Regions from separate parts of the Homo sapiens genome. Here regions 1, 2 and 3 are each linked to region 4. The links are contacts of gene promoters, found by promoter capture Hi-C in blood cells and fetal thymus (Javierre and others, 2016). All regions are on one chromosome and are shown on one strand. The core of a region is centred on a gene start or on the middle of the fragment in contact, and the rest is flanking DNA. Distances in the headings are between cores, read along the strand shown.

The links. The method cuts DNA at HindIII sites, captures the fragments that hold promoters and counts their contacts. A CHiCAGO score of 5 or more calls a contact.
Region 1: a contact is called between a fragment that was not itself captured here and the fragment with the promoter of PKDCC in region 4, in 1 of 17 cell types (naive B cells). The highest score is 5.0, in naive B cells.
Region 2: a contact is called between a fragment that was not itself captured here and the fragment with the promoter of PKDCC in region 4, in 1 of 17 cell types (naive B cells). The highest score is 5.6, in naive B cells.
Region 3: a fragment that was not itself captured here is called in contact with the fragment with the promoter of PKDCC in region 4 in 1 of 17 cell types (megakaryocytes); the score reaches 5.2 in megakaryocytes.

What each region holds. Positions count from the first base shown.
Region 1 is chr2:42,281,965-42,284,823 of GRCh38, reverse strand. EML4 (EMAP like 4) reads right to left here. Exons shown (of 23, transcript NM_019063.5): 8 at 1,852-2,001; 9 at 121-190. Among named protein-coding and RNA genes, the nearest start is that of COX7A2L, 78 kb to the left of the region's middle. The HindIII fragment of the contact is 235 bases long and covers 1,229-1,463 here.
Region 2 is chr2:42,218,752-42,221,635 of GRCh38, reverse strand. The region is part of intron 1 of EML4 (EMAP like 4); the gene reads right to left. Among named protein-coding and RNA genes, the nearest start is that of EML4-AS1, 50 kb to the right of the region's middle. The HindIII fragment of the contact is 1,204 bases long and covers 953-2,156 here.
Region 3 is chr2:41,809,248-41,811,961 of GRCh38, reverse strand. No RefSeq gene overlaps it. Among named protein-coding and RNA genes, the nearest start is that of LINC01913, 67 kb to the left of the region's middle. The HindIII fragment of the contact is 1,046 bases long and covers 865-1,910 here.
Region 4 is chr2:42,046,636-42,049,335 of GRCh38, reverse strand. PKDCC (protein kinase domain containing, cytoplasmic) reads right to left here and starts at 1,315. Exons shown (of 7, transcript NM_138370.3): 1 at 498-1,315. The coding sequence starts at 1,136. RefSeq lists enhancers at 427-686, 2,187-2,306, 1,930-2,434, 2,435-2,700 and silencers at 727-796, 927-1,026, 1,037-1,216, 1,367-1,616, 1,727-2,016. The HindIII fragment of the contact is 13,255 bases long and covers 1-2,700 here.

The DNA.
Region 1 (2,859 bases), core at 97-2,596, 240 kb before region 4:
AATTCCTCAGTACTTAAATTTTAAAAGAATAAAACAAATGAGTTGTGGTTAAAATTACAATAGATTCCACTCTAACAGCAATGTCTCTAGGTACAGAAGGCATAACACTATGCCACTCACCCTTCCATCTTTATCCACGCCAGCTATCTGTCCAGTTGCAATCCTAATTTTGTCAGGATGTATAGCAAGGCTAAAAAGCAGTATTAAGAATGATTTTAAACACAGGAAACATGAAACAACAGAATACCTTTGTACTGACATTTTTCAAATAAGCAGTTTTTAATCGTTAAAAAACATACGTTTATCTGTTTTCTTCAGCAAATCAAACAATCATCAAATATCTGAAGATTTCTGAATTTTCAGCTGTACTTTTTACTTGTTAAGCTGCACAGATTAATGAAACACTAAGTTCAAAGAAAATATTTATAACTGTGGCATGCTAACGAACTGTTTTCATTTGCTGAAGTTCCTTTCTAGTCCACGCACAATGGCATACAAATCACACGACTTTATTATAGTGAAGATGCAATATTGTGCTGTTTAATTTTAATCTATTAAAGTACAAGCATTTTTTCCTTTTGCTACATAATCCTCATACATGCTGACTTGACAACTCTTCCATCTTTTAGGCCATTTCTTACTTTTCAACAAAAGAAAACAGCAATGAGCATCTTCACACATAGTGCTTTCAATCTTTTAATTAGTTCTTAGCGCTAAATTCTTGTAAGTCAAACTGAGGCAAGGAATTTTTAAATAGAAATGGGAAGTAGCGTAGCATATGTGCCTAAATTACTCACAGCACGTATATGAGTGACTAGCAAATTTCTGAAAAAGACATCTTTATGTCCATATCTAGACTCTTTCAACAACGGTTGTACACTGTGAACATTCTCTTGCTCTTAAATATTTGTACTTAAGAACACATCAGAGGGATATTTACATATTAATACATAAAGTGCTTCCTCATTCTTTACAGCTACATGGTGACCTATAGGTACACTACAACCTCACCAGTAGTCCCCAACTGAAAAATACTTAGGCTGTTTCTAATCTTCATCACAAACAATGCTGCAGTAAATAGTTTTGTACATACATTATTCTGCAAGTGTAAAAGGCAATATTTTAATCAACTCCAAAAGTTCAATATCTATATAATATTATAATAGTCATCTATTAATTTTTTTCTGGATAAAGATACAGGTGCCAGCATAGTACAGACATAAAAGCTTTTAAATGTTGGAAAACATCCAGTCAGTCCTTGGATCTAAGTGGGGAAAAGGGTAATAAATAAAAAATAAAAGTTGGAAAATATTAATAAACAATAAATAATTGCATTTAACTAAAAAGTAACAAAATAATTTAAAAGCATTTAAAAGGAGTTCTCACATTTGTAGTATGACATCCTACGGCATACTTATGATCCTTATTCAGCTAGATTTCTTTCTTCCCAAAAGAATAAAGCTTCAAGTATAAAATTTATCTACATAGGACAAATCCTCAATAAATATCGAGTAACCAATAATCACTTTCAGAAACCTGAAAATGTCCAGTCTGTCCCATATATGTTTCACACTACAGACCAGAGAAGAGAAGGACTGTACGACATGAGAAAGCAGAAGAGGTTCCAATCATGATTTATGGAGGATGTGTTTTGTTGCTGCTGATACCACACCACCATTTTGGAGGCCGAAAGTCCTTTTTTTCTTTTTAAAATATATTCAACAGATGACCCATAATATTTTTACATTCTGAGCTTTCCACAAGAAATCACTTTCAATAAAACCCAAATTTAAAAAATACAAAATGAGGGCCTGAAAGAACAAAAATGAACCAATGTTAAATGATACCAACCATTTCACACAGTCTGTATGGCCCAGGTAGTGTCGCTGAGTTCTCTCCTCATAATTAAATAGTACTACTACTGATGCAATGAAATAAACTATTTTCCCGGTCGGAAGAAGGTAAACATTAGCTCTACAGTCCTTTCCTCGATAACCATATCTTAACAGAAAAAGAGTCAAGGTTTTAAATAAACACAGTTTTCAAGTTGTTAACAGATTTTTCATGGATACTTAAGGAATTAGGAAGGTACAATGAAGAAGACTGAACTAGAACTAGAAAACTCATGTCCTGGACGGGCAGAGTGCTCACACGTGTAATCCTAGCCCTTCAGGAGGCCAAGGTGGGAGGATCACTTCAGTCCAGGAGTTTGAGAGTAGTGCGGGCAATAGTGAGACCCCATCTCGACAGAAAATAAAAAAAATTAGCCAGGCATGGTGGCCTGTGCCTGTAGTTCCAGCTACTTGGGAGTCTGAGGTGGGAGAATCACTTGAGCCCAGGAGGTCAGGTCAAGGCTACAGTGAGCAGTGATCGTGCCACTGCACTCCAGCCTGGGCCACAGAGACCCTGTTGCCGCCCACCCCCACCCCTCCACCAAAAAAAAGGAAAACTCATATCCTGCCATTATCCCTAGCGTAACCTGACTCTTTCAGTATGTTAAGATCTTAGTTTCCTCATTTACCAGACAAATATGTATTGAAATCCTAATGTGTATCAGGCATAATGGTGAACATTCAGTTCTGAACAAAAAAAATGTAGGCCCTATGTCTCTAGAGCTTATCCTCTGGCAAAGAAAAAAAAAAATCACCAAATATAAAATTACAAATCGTGGGGGGGTAAAAAAAAGACTGCTAGGAGAAAGCCCAAATGGAGGACCTAATTTAGATGGAGAGAAAAAGAGAGAGAAGGGAGGGACCAAAAGAAGGCCTATCTGGAAAAGGGATATTTATGCTGGACCTAAATGATAAATAAGTAATAGCAAGGAACAGTTTGGTAGGCAGAATGTTTGTTAAAAATATG
Region 2 (2,884 bases), core at 305-2,804, 170 kb before region 4:
GTGAAACTCCATCTAAAACAAAACAAAACAAAACAAAACCCAAAAAAACACCACAAAAATTAGTCAGGCATGGTTGGGTGTGCTTACAGTCCCAGCTACTCAGGAGGCTCAGGTGGGAGGATTGCTTGGGCCCGGGACATTGAGGCTGCAGTGAGCCATGATAGCACTACTGCGCTCTAGCCTGGGTGACAAAGCAAGGTCCTGTCTCAAAAAAAAAAAAAAAAAAAAAAAAGTAAACCATGTTGTAAACAATGTGCTGTCATCTAAGCTTTGTTGTTCCATTTCTAGAGCATACACATGCGCAGGGTAGAATAATCCCAAGGCCCTAGGATTTTCAGAATGGTCAATGAGCACTGGCTTCAACTTAAAGTCATCAGCTACAATACCCCCTCAACAGTCAGCTTGTCCTTTGAAGCCAGGCATTGGCTTCTCTTCTCTAGCTATGAAAGTACTGGGTAACATCTTTTTCTAATATAAGACAGTGTTGTCTACACTGATAATCTGTTGTTTAGTGCAGCCACCTTCATCAATGATCTTAGCTAAATCTTCTAGATAACCTGCTGCAGCTTCCACTTCAGAACCTGCTGCTTCACCTTGCACTTTTATGTATGGAGATGGCTTCTTTCCTTAAACCTCATGAACTAATCTCTGCTAGCTTCAAACTTCTGCAGCTTCCTCACGTCTCTCAGCTTTCATAGAAATGAAGAGAGTTAGAGCCTTGCTCTGGATTAGGCTTTGGCTTAAGGGAATGTTGTGTCTGGTCTGACTTTATATTCAGAACATGCAAACATTCTCCGTATCTGCAATAAGGCTGTTTAACTTTATCATTCATATGTTCACTGGAGTAGCACTCTTCAGAAACTTTTTCTCTGCATTCACAACTGGCTGTCTGGTATGAGAAGCCTAGCTTTCAGCCTATCTCAGCTTTTGACATGCCTTCTTCATCTAAGCTTCATCATTTCTAGCTTTTGATTTAAAGTGAGAAACGTGCACTCTTCCTTTCACTTGAACACTTAAGAACCATTGTAGGATTATTAACTGGCCTCATTTCAATATTGTTATCTCAGGGAATAGGGAGGCCTGAGGAGAGGGAGAGAGACAGAGGAACAGCCAGTGTGTGGAGCAGTCAGAACACACAACATTTATTAAGTAGGCTATCTTAAATGGGTGTCACTCATGGCACTCCAAAACAATTACAACAGTAACATCAAAGGTAATGGATCACAGGTCACCGTAAGAGATATAATAATAGTGAAAAAGTTTGAAATACTGTGAGAACTAGCAAAACGTGACACAGATGAAGTGGGTACACATGCTGTTGGAAAAACGGGGCCAATACACTTGCTCAATGCAGGGTTGCCAAAAACCTTCAATTTGTAAAAAAAAAAAAAAAAAAAAATACAGTATCTGCAAAGTGCAAGAGTATGAAGCACAATAAAACAAAGTATGCCTGAATTTGATATGGATAACTGGTATTTTTTCAATTATGTGTTATACACGTATTATAGATAAGTAAAACAATTTTTTGAGAATTTTGCTGTTTCCAATGATCTATGACATACACTATGAGTGAAAATAATGTGCAGCAACAAAATAAATCTTCAAGACATACTCCCCTACCCAAACTGCCACCCCTTAAGCCCTTCCTATACAGAAATTTTCAAAGCAGCTATTCCTGGCAAAAAAGAGTTTTCCTTTTTTTTTTTTTTTTAGATGGAGTCTCCTTCTGTCGCCCAGGCTGCACTGCAGTAGCACGATCTTGGCTCACTGCAACCCCCACCTCCCAGGTTCAAGTGATTCTCCTGCCTCAGCCTCCCAAGTAGCTGGGATTACAGACATGCGCCCCTTACGCCCGGCTAATAATTTTTTTTTGTATTTTTAGTAGAGATGGGGCTTCACCATGTTGGCCAGGCTGGTCTTGAAGTCCTGATGTCAAGTAATCTGCCCACCTCGGCCTCCCAAAATCCTGGGATTACAGGCGTGAGCCACTGCACCCAGCCAGAAAGGGGTTTTCAATGCATTGTCCTGCACCAAAACCAAAACAAAACCACATACATAAACTTTTTGATTTTTTAAAATTTTGTTAAATGCAAAATGTCATTTTCTAATCTATGAAAATCTAAAAGAAAAATTAAATGTAGAAACTAAAGCAAGCTTAAGATTTACAGAACTTCAGGTAGACCTTTTCAAAGACATCTACAGTCATCCCTCAGACATGCAGGAGGGTGGTTACAGGACTCCTACATATACCAAGTCCGGGCATACTCAAGTCCCATAGTCAGCCCTGCACAATCCACATATACAAAAACTGAGGCCTCTGTATACACAGGTTTGGCATCCCTGGAATACTGTATTTTTCAATCCACGTTTGGTTGAAAAAATCCACATATCAGTGGACCTGCCCAGTTCAAACTGGTGTTGTTCAAGGGTCAACTGTATTTCCTTATGAAGGGGGCTCTTCCTTATTTGATGCCGTTTCTGCTACAATTAATCAATTAAAGGTCTACAACTAAACTTTCTATGTTCACTGTGGGTTCTTCATGGCCAAGAGTCATTGGTGTGTAAATGATGTCACTGATGAAACAAGCAAATGTGTTTCAGTTAAATTTTGGAGTAAACGCATAACAAGCATTAGTTAACTGCATTATACCTTACATTAAAAGTTTTTACTAAGTCAAGTGCTGCAGTGCATGTTTGTATTCCTAGCTGCTTGCGAGGCTGAGATGGGAAGATTGCTTGAGCCCAGGAGTTCACGTCTAGGCTGGACAACACAGCAAGACCCCCTCTCTTTAAAATTAAAAAAAGAAATTTCACTGATTTTGAAAAGAAGCCACTACCATACTACTGGTTAAAATCCAAAATTCAAATATTCTTGTGGTCAAAG
Region 3 (2,714 bases), core at 138-2,637, 240 kb after region 4:
GATTTGGAGGAAACATGCTTCTGAACCATATCACCAGCAGAAGAATCTCTCACTCTAGTCTGCTAATATGGAGTCTTACATAACATAGTATACTCATGGGAGTGACATCCCATCCCCAAGTCATATTCTGTTGACTAGAAGCACATTGTAGGTTCTGTCCATACTCACGAAGAGGGGATTGTACAAGGGCATGGATCATTAGGGATCATTAGAATATGTCTGCCACATATCCTTTAGTATGTCTCTGTTTTTAAATGAAACTTATTGAGGTTTTCTTTGTAACTTAATGTATGGTCAATTTTGTGAATGTTCCATGTACACTTGAAAAAAATTACATTCTCTATTGTTGTATTTGGGAGCTTAATATACATTTTAATCTATATTTTACTAATTATTTTGTTTAGATCTTCTATATCCTTACTATTTTTTTTGTCTATTTGACCTGCTTTTAACTGAGAATGGTTAATGTATCCTATTGTTAATGTTTTTCTGACCATTTCTCCCTGAATTTCTTGTAGTTTCTCCTTTATAAATATGGTTGTTATATTATTTGGGACAAAGATATTATTAACTGTATTTTTACTGTAATGCATTGCTTGAATTTTAAAATGGCCTTTATTATTTCACACAGTGTTTTGTTTTTGAGGTTTCACTATGTGATATCAAGATGGCAATCACTGTTTCTAGTATTTTTCATTTGCCTTGTATACATTTGCCTATCTCTTTAATTTTAGTCTTTTCAAATAATTTTGGTTTAGGTTGTTTCCTTTAAAAATAGCTTTATTTAGGTGTAATCGTTAAACTTTACATATTTAATGGCTACAACTTGATGAATTTGGACATATGAATATACTTATGAAAGCTTCATTCACAATAAAAGTGATAGACATTATCAGTCACCTTTAAATTTTCCTTTTTCTTCATTATTGTTGTTGTAAAAACTCTTGAGATGAGATCCTCTTTTAACAATTTTTCAGTGCATAATATAGTAGTATTAACTATAGACACTATGTTGAACAATAGATCTTTAGAATTTATTCATCTTGCATAACTGAAACTTTATACCTGTTAAACAGCAACTCCCCATTTTCCCTTCCTTCCAACCCCTGGAAGCCACCATTCTACTTAACATTTTTATGAGTTTGACTATTTTAGTTACCTCATATAAGTGGAATCATGCAATATTTTTCCCTCTGTGACTGGCTTAACTTCACTTAGCAAAATATTTTCCAGGTTCATCCACATTTTTGCAAATGACAAGATTTCCTTCTTAAAGGCTGATTGAGTTTCCATTTTATAAATATATCAGATTTTCTTTATTCATCTGTTGATGAGTATTTGGATTTTTTCCATATCTTGGCTATTGTGAATAACACTGCAGTGAACACGAGAGAACAGGTATCTCTTTGAAATCCTGATTTCAATTCTTTTGAATATATACTCAGAAGTGGGGTTGTTGGATCATATGGCAGTTTTATTTTTTTTGAGGAACCTCCATACTGTTTTCCATCGTAGCTACATCATTTTACATTCTTGCTAACAGTTCACAAGCGTTCCAGTTTCTCTACATCCTCAGCATCACTTATATATATTTGTAATAATAGCCACTCTAACAGATATGAGATGATATCGATCTCTTTGGGGTTTTGATTTGCCTTTTCCTGATGATTGGTGATATTGAGAATCTTTTCATATACTTATCGGCCACTCATACATCTTCTTTGGAGAAATGTCTATTCAAGTCCTTTTCCCATTTTAAAAATTGGGTTGTTTCCTTGCTATTGAGTTCTATGAGTTCCTTATGAATTTTGAATATTAATCACTTATGAAATATATATTGCGTATATATTCTCCCATTCCATGGGTTGCCTTTTCACTCTGCTAATTGTCTCCTTTGCTGTGCAGAAGCTTTTTAATTTGATGCAATTCCACTTGTCTACTTTTGCTTTTGTTGCTTGCATTTCTTGTGTCTATGCAATAAATCATTGCCAAAGCCAATGTCAAAAAGTTTTTCCCCTATGTTTTCTTCTAGGAGTTTTATAGTTTTAGGTCTTACATTTAAAACCTTAATTCATTTTGAGTTGATTTTTTTGTGTAAGATAGGGGATCGAGTTTCATTTTTTTTGTGTGTGAATATCCAGTTTTCCCAGTTTTCTTTGCTGAAAAGACTATTTTTTTTCTGCATTGTGTATTTTTGGTACCCTTGCTGAAGACCAGTTGACCAAAATATACATATATACGTATATATATGTGTGTGTGTGTGTGTGTGTGTATATATATATATATATATATATATATATGAGTTTGTATCTTGGCTCTCTATTCCGTTTTATTGGTCTATTCATCTGTCTTCGTGTCAGTGTTAGGTTGTCTCTTGAGTATACAACATAGAGTTCAGTTTTGCTTTGTGATCCAATCTGAAATGTTTTTCCTTTAAGTGGTAAGCATAGGAATTGATATTTGTGCCTGGACCTAATTCCCTTAACTGGGCCAGTGCACTTATCTTCCAGCTACTCCAAGTCTTGCCTAATACTGGTTCATACCTTCACCTTTCTTTGGAGGATTGCCTTTGATGGATGGGAGTCACCTAGTTGGGAGATGCCTTGAAATTATGACCCCTGCCTCCAATACCAGACAGTGACTCACTGATGTTGATATATAACAACCCAGCACTCTTGTTTCTAGGTGGGACAAACCCTGTGGTGCAGTCCATG
Region 4 (2,700 bases), core at 66-2,565:
CTTTCCAGCTCTTCCCAGCCCCACTGCTGTCCCGTCTCATTTTCAAAACCAGACAAATCACTGGAAGTTGGGAGAAGTTCCATCAAGAAGGGGGACTTTATCACACAGTTGGAATTCTGACTCAAGTGTCTTGGCTTAGGGTCATTTTGGCTTGGGGTAATATCCCTGGTGTTCAACCTCCTAACTCCAGCCCGGAGTAGAGTCCTAAATCCTAATGGACTGCCCCACCCCCTGAGTTTTGGGAGCCTCTGTCCTGGCCTGTCTTTAAGAGATGTGTGGAAGCCGAGAAACCCAGGAGTTCTCCGGTAAAGGGACGCCCACCCAGGAGTGAGAAGCAGGGTGGTGCAGTGGGAAGGGCCATGGTCCGGTTTCTGCGTCTAGCTTAGCCTGGGTGCAGTCACTGGCACTCCAGATCAAGGGGTTCTCTTCCAGCCAGGTTGACAAGGTCTTGGGCACTCCCAGCCAACACCGTTACCCCCGCGTCCCCACCCTCGTACCTGCAGCACGTTGGGGTGCCGCAGCCGCTCCAGCAGCACCATCTCCTTAAGCAGCTTGTGGGCCGCCAGCCGATAGCAGCCCCTCCGTACCCCGAACTCGCGCACGCAGCTGCCCAGATCGTGGCCGCTAAAGTCCACCGCCTTGAGCGCCACCGCGGCACCGCCGGGCAGGCGGACCCGGTACACGGCCTTGGTGTAGCCTGAGCCCATGTACTGCGCGCCGGACACGTTGCGAAGCGCGGCGCAGCCCAGGCGCGGGCCCGGGCCGGGGGAGCCTGGGCCGGGAGCCGGGGGCCAGCCTGGGGCGCCGTCGGACAGGGGCCGGGCCCAAGGGGGCCGGGGGCGCGGCAGGCCGGGCCCGCCCGGAGCCAGGTCCATCAGGCGCCGCCGCTCCGGCCGGCCCGCCCCGGGCCCGGGGCCCCCGCGGGAATAGCGCTGCACCTCCTCGTAGCGCGCCCGGATCTGCCGGGCCAGCTCCCCGCGGCCCCCGCGACGGCCCGGACCCGGGGCCGGCGAAGGCTCAGGGGACTGGCCTGGCCTCGGAGGCTCCGAGCCCGGAGCGAAGAGCACGTTGAGGACGGAGCCCAGCAGGAAGGAGGCGCAGAAACCCGCGGCCACTGCCGCCCGCCGGCGCCGCATCGCTCCCCTCCCCCCGGCCGGCCGGCCCCGCGCGGCTCCCCGGCCCCGGCCCCGGGCGGCTCAGGCTCCGAGGCGGCTCCGCTCTGCGCCCCGCCGGCCCCCTGCCCAGCCCGCGCGCATGGCCCCGGCGGCCCCGACCCCGGCCCCTCGCGGGCGACACATCGGCCTGACACTTGCCTCCCTGCCGCCCTGCCCCCGCCGCTTATAAGGCCCAGAGCCGCCCCCCGCCCCCGCCCCCGCCCCCTCCCCCGCCCCCTCCCCCGCCCCTCCGCCTCCACCTCCCAGCTCCCGGCCCGAGCCCGTCCTCGGCGCCGCCCCCTCCGGCCGCCCGGCCCGGCCTTCCCCGCTGACTGACAGCGGGACCTCCTCCCGCGGCCGTCCGGGCCTGGGAAGCGGCGCGGAGGCGGCTCCGGTCCTGCCCAGCCCGCGGTCCCGCCCAGCCCGCGGTCCCCCGAGCTCCGTCTGGGAGCGGGGGAGGGGGCGGCGGCGGCCAGGAGGCGCGCGGGGGCTCCGCGCCCAACGCGAGGGCGGATAACGGGGCCGGGGCGGCCGGATAACGGGATTGGGAGGTGGATAACGGAGCCGGCCGGGCGGAGTGGGGGAAAGATAAAGGGGCGAGGCCGGCGGGTAGCGGGCTCCGGAGGGGACGAGCAGCTAAGTCCGGGGTGCGGAGATCCGAGTGATCTCAGCGCTCCCTCCTGGGACTGGGGGCCTCGGGGCGGTTTGGGCGCAGGGAAGGCGCGTGGACCCCGTCTCTCGCGGGTGGGGCCGGGGGTGGCGGCTCCTCGCTCAGCCCCGGATTCCGGATTGGGGCGATGGTGAGGGGGAAGCGGGCACAGCCGGGCCAGCACCTGCGAGCGCGCGTGGGACAGGAGCTCTAGGCATAGAGGAATGCTCGTGAGCTCGCCGAGGATGCCCTGTTCAACTCCTTTTACCAAAGTGTTTCTGATTTTCCTTGCCTCTAAAGCCCCAAATGCAGCTGGGGGTCGCTCCCTACCCCTCAAGATGCCTGGGGTCTGACGGGGTCAGCCGCGTATAAGAAACCATGTGCATGCTAGTAGCTTGGGCAAAGAGTGCGTTTGTGCCCACGGACGGCTGTCTGTGGAGTGTGTGCCTCGGCGTGTCTGAAGGGGCCATTGTGTCCGATGAAGGGAATGTGTACCTTGTGTGTAAGTTGGTGCTGACGCCACCAGAACTTCGGTCCCTCCTCCTCCCTCCCTGATTGCATCATTAGTGCTAATTGAGGGGCTTTCACACGCCAGTGCACTAGCTGTTTGGAGTGAGCTCCCCCCTCCTGGGAGAGATAAGCCGCTGCCCCTCCCCCTCGCAGCTCTCCTCTTCCCCGCCACTCTGAAACTGCCCACCTAGATCCTCTCACCTTCCTGGGCAGCTTCCTGCCTCCCTCTGGGCCAGGTTAATCTCTGTCCTCCTCACAGTGTCAGGGATTGGCTGGGGAGGGGTCAGGGAGGAGAAGGGTCCACAGCCTTTTTTCTGGGGGTGGGGGTGGGTGGGGGGGTATCCAGGGAGGGGAGATTTTCCCTGAAGAGGTCTGGCGTTCCTACAG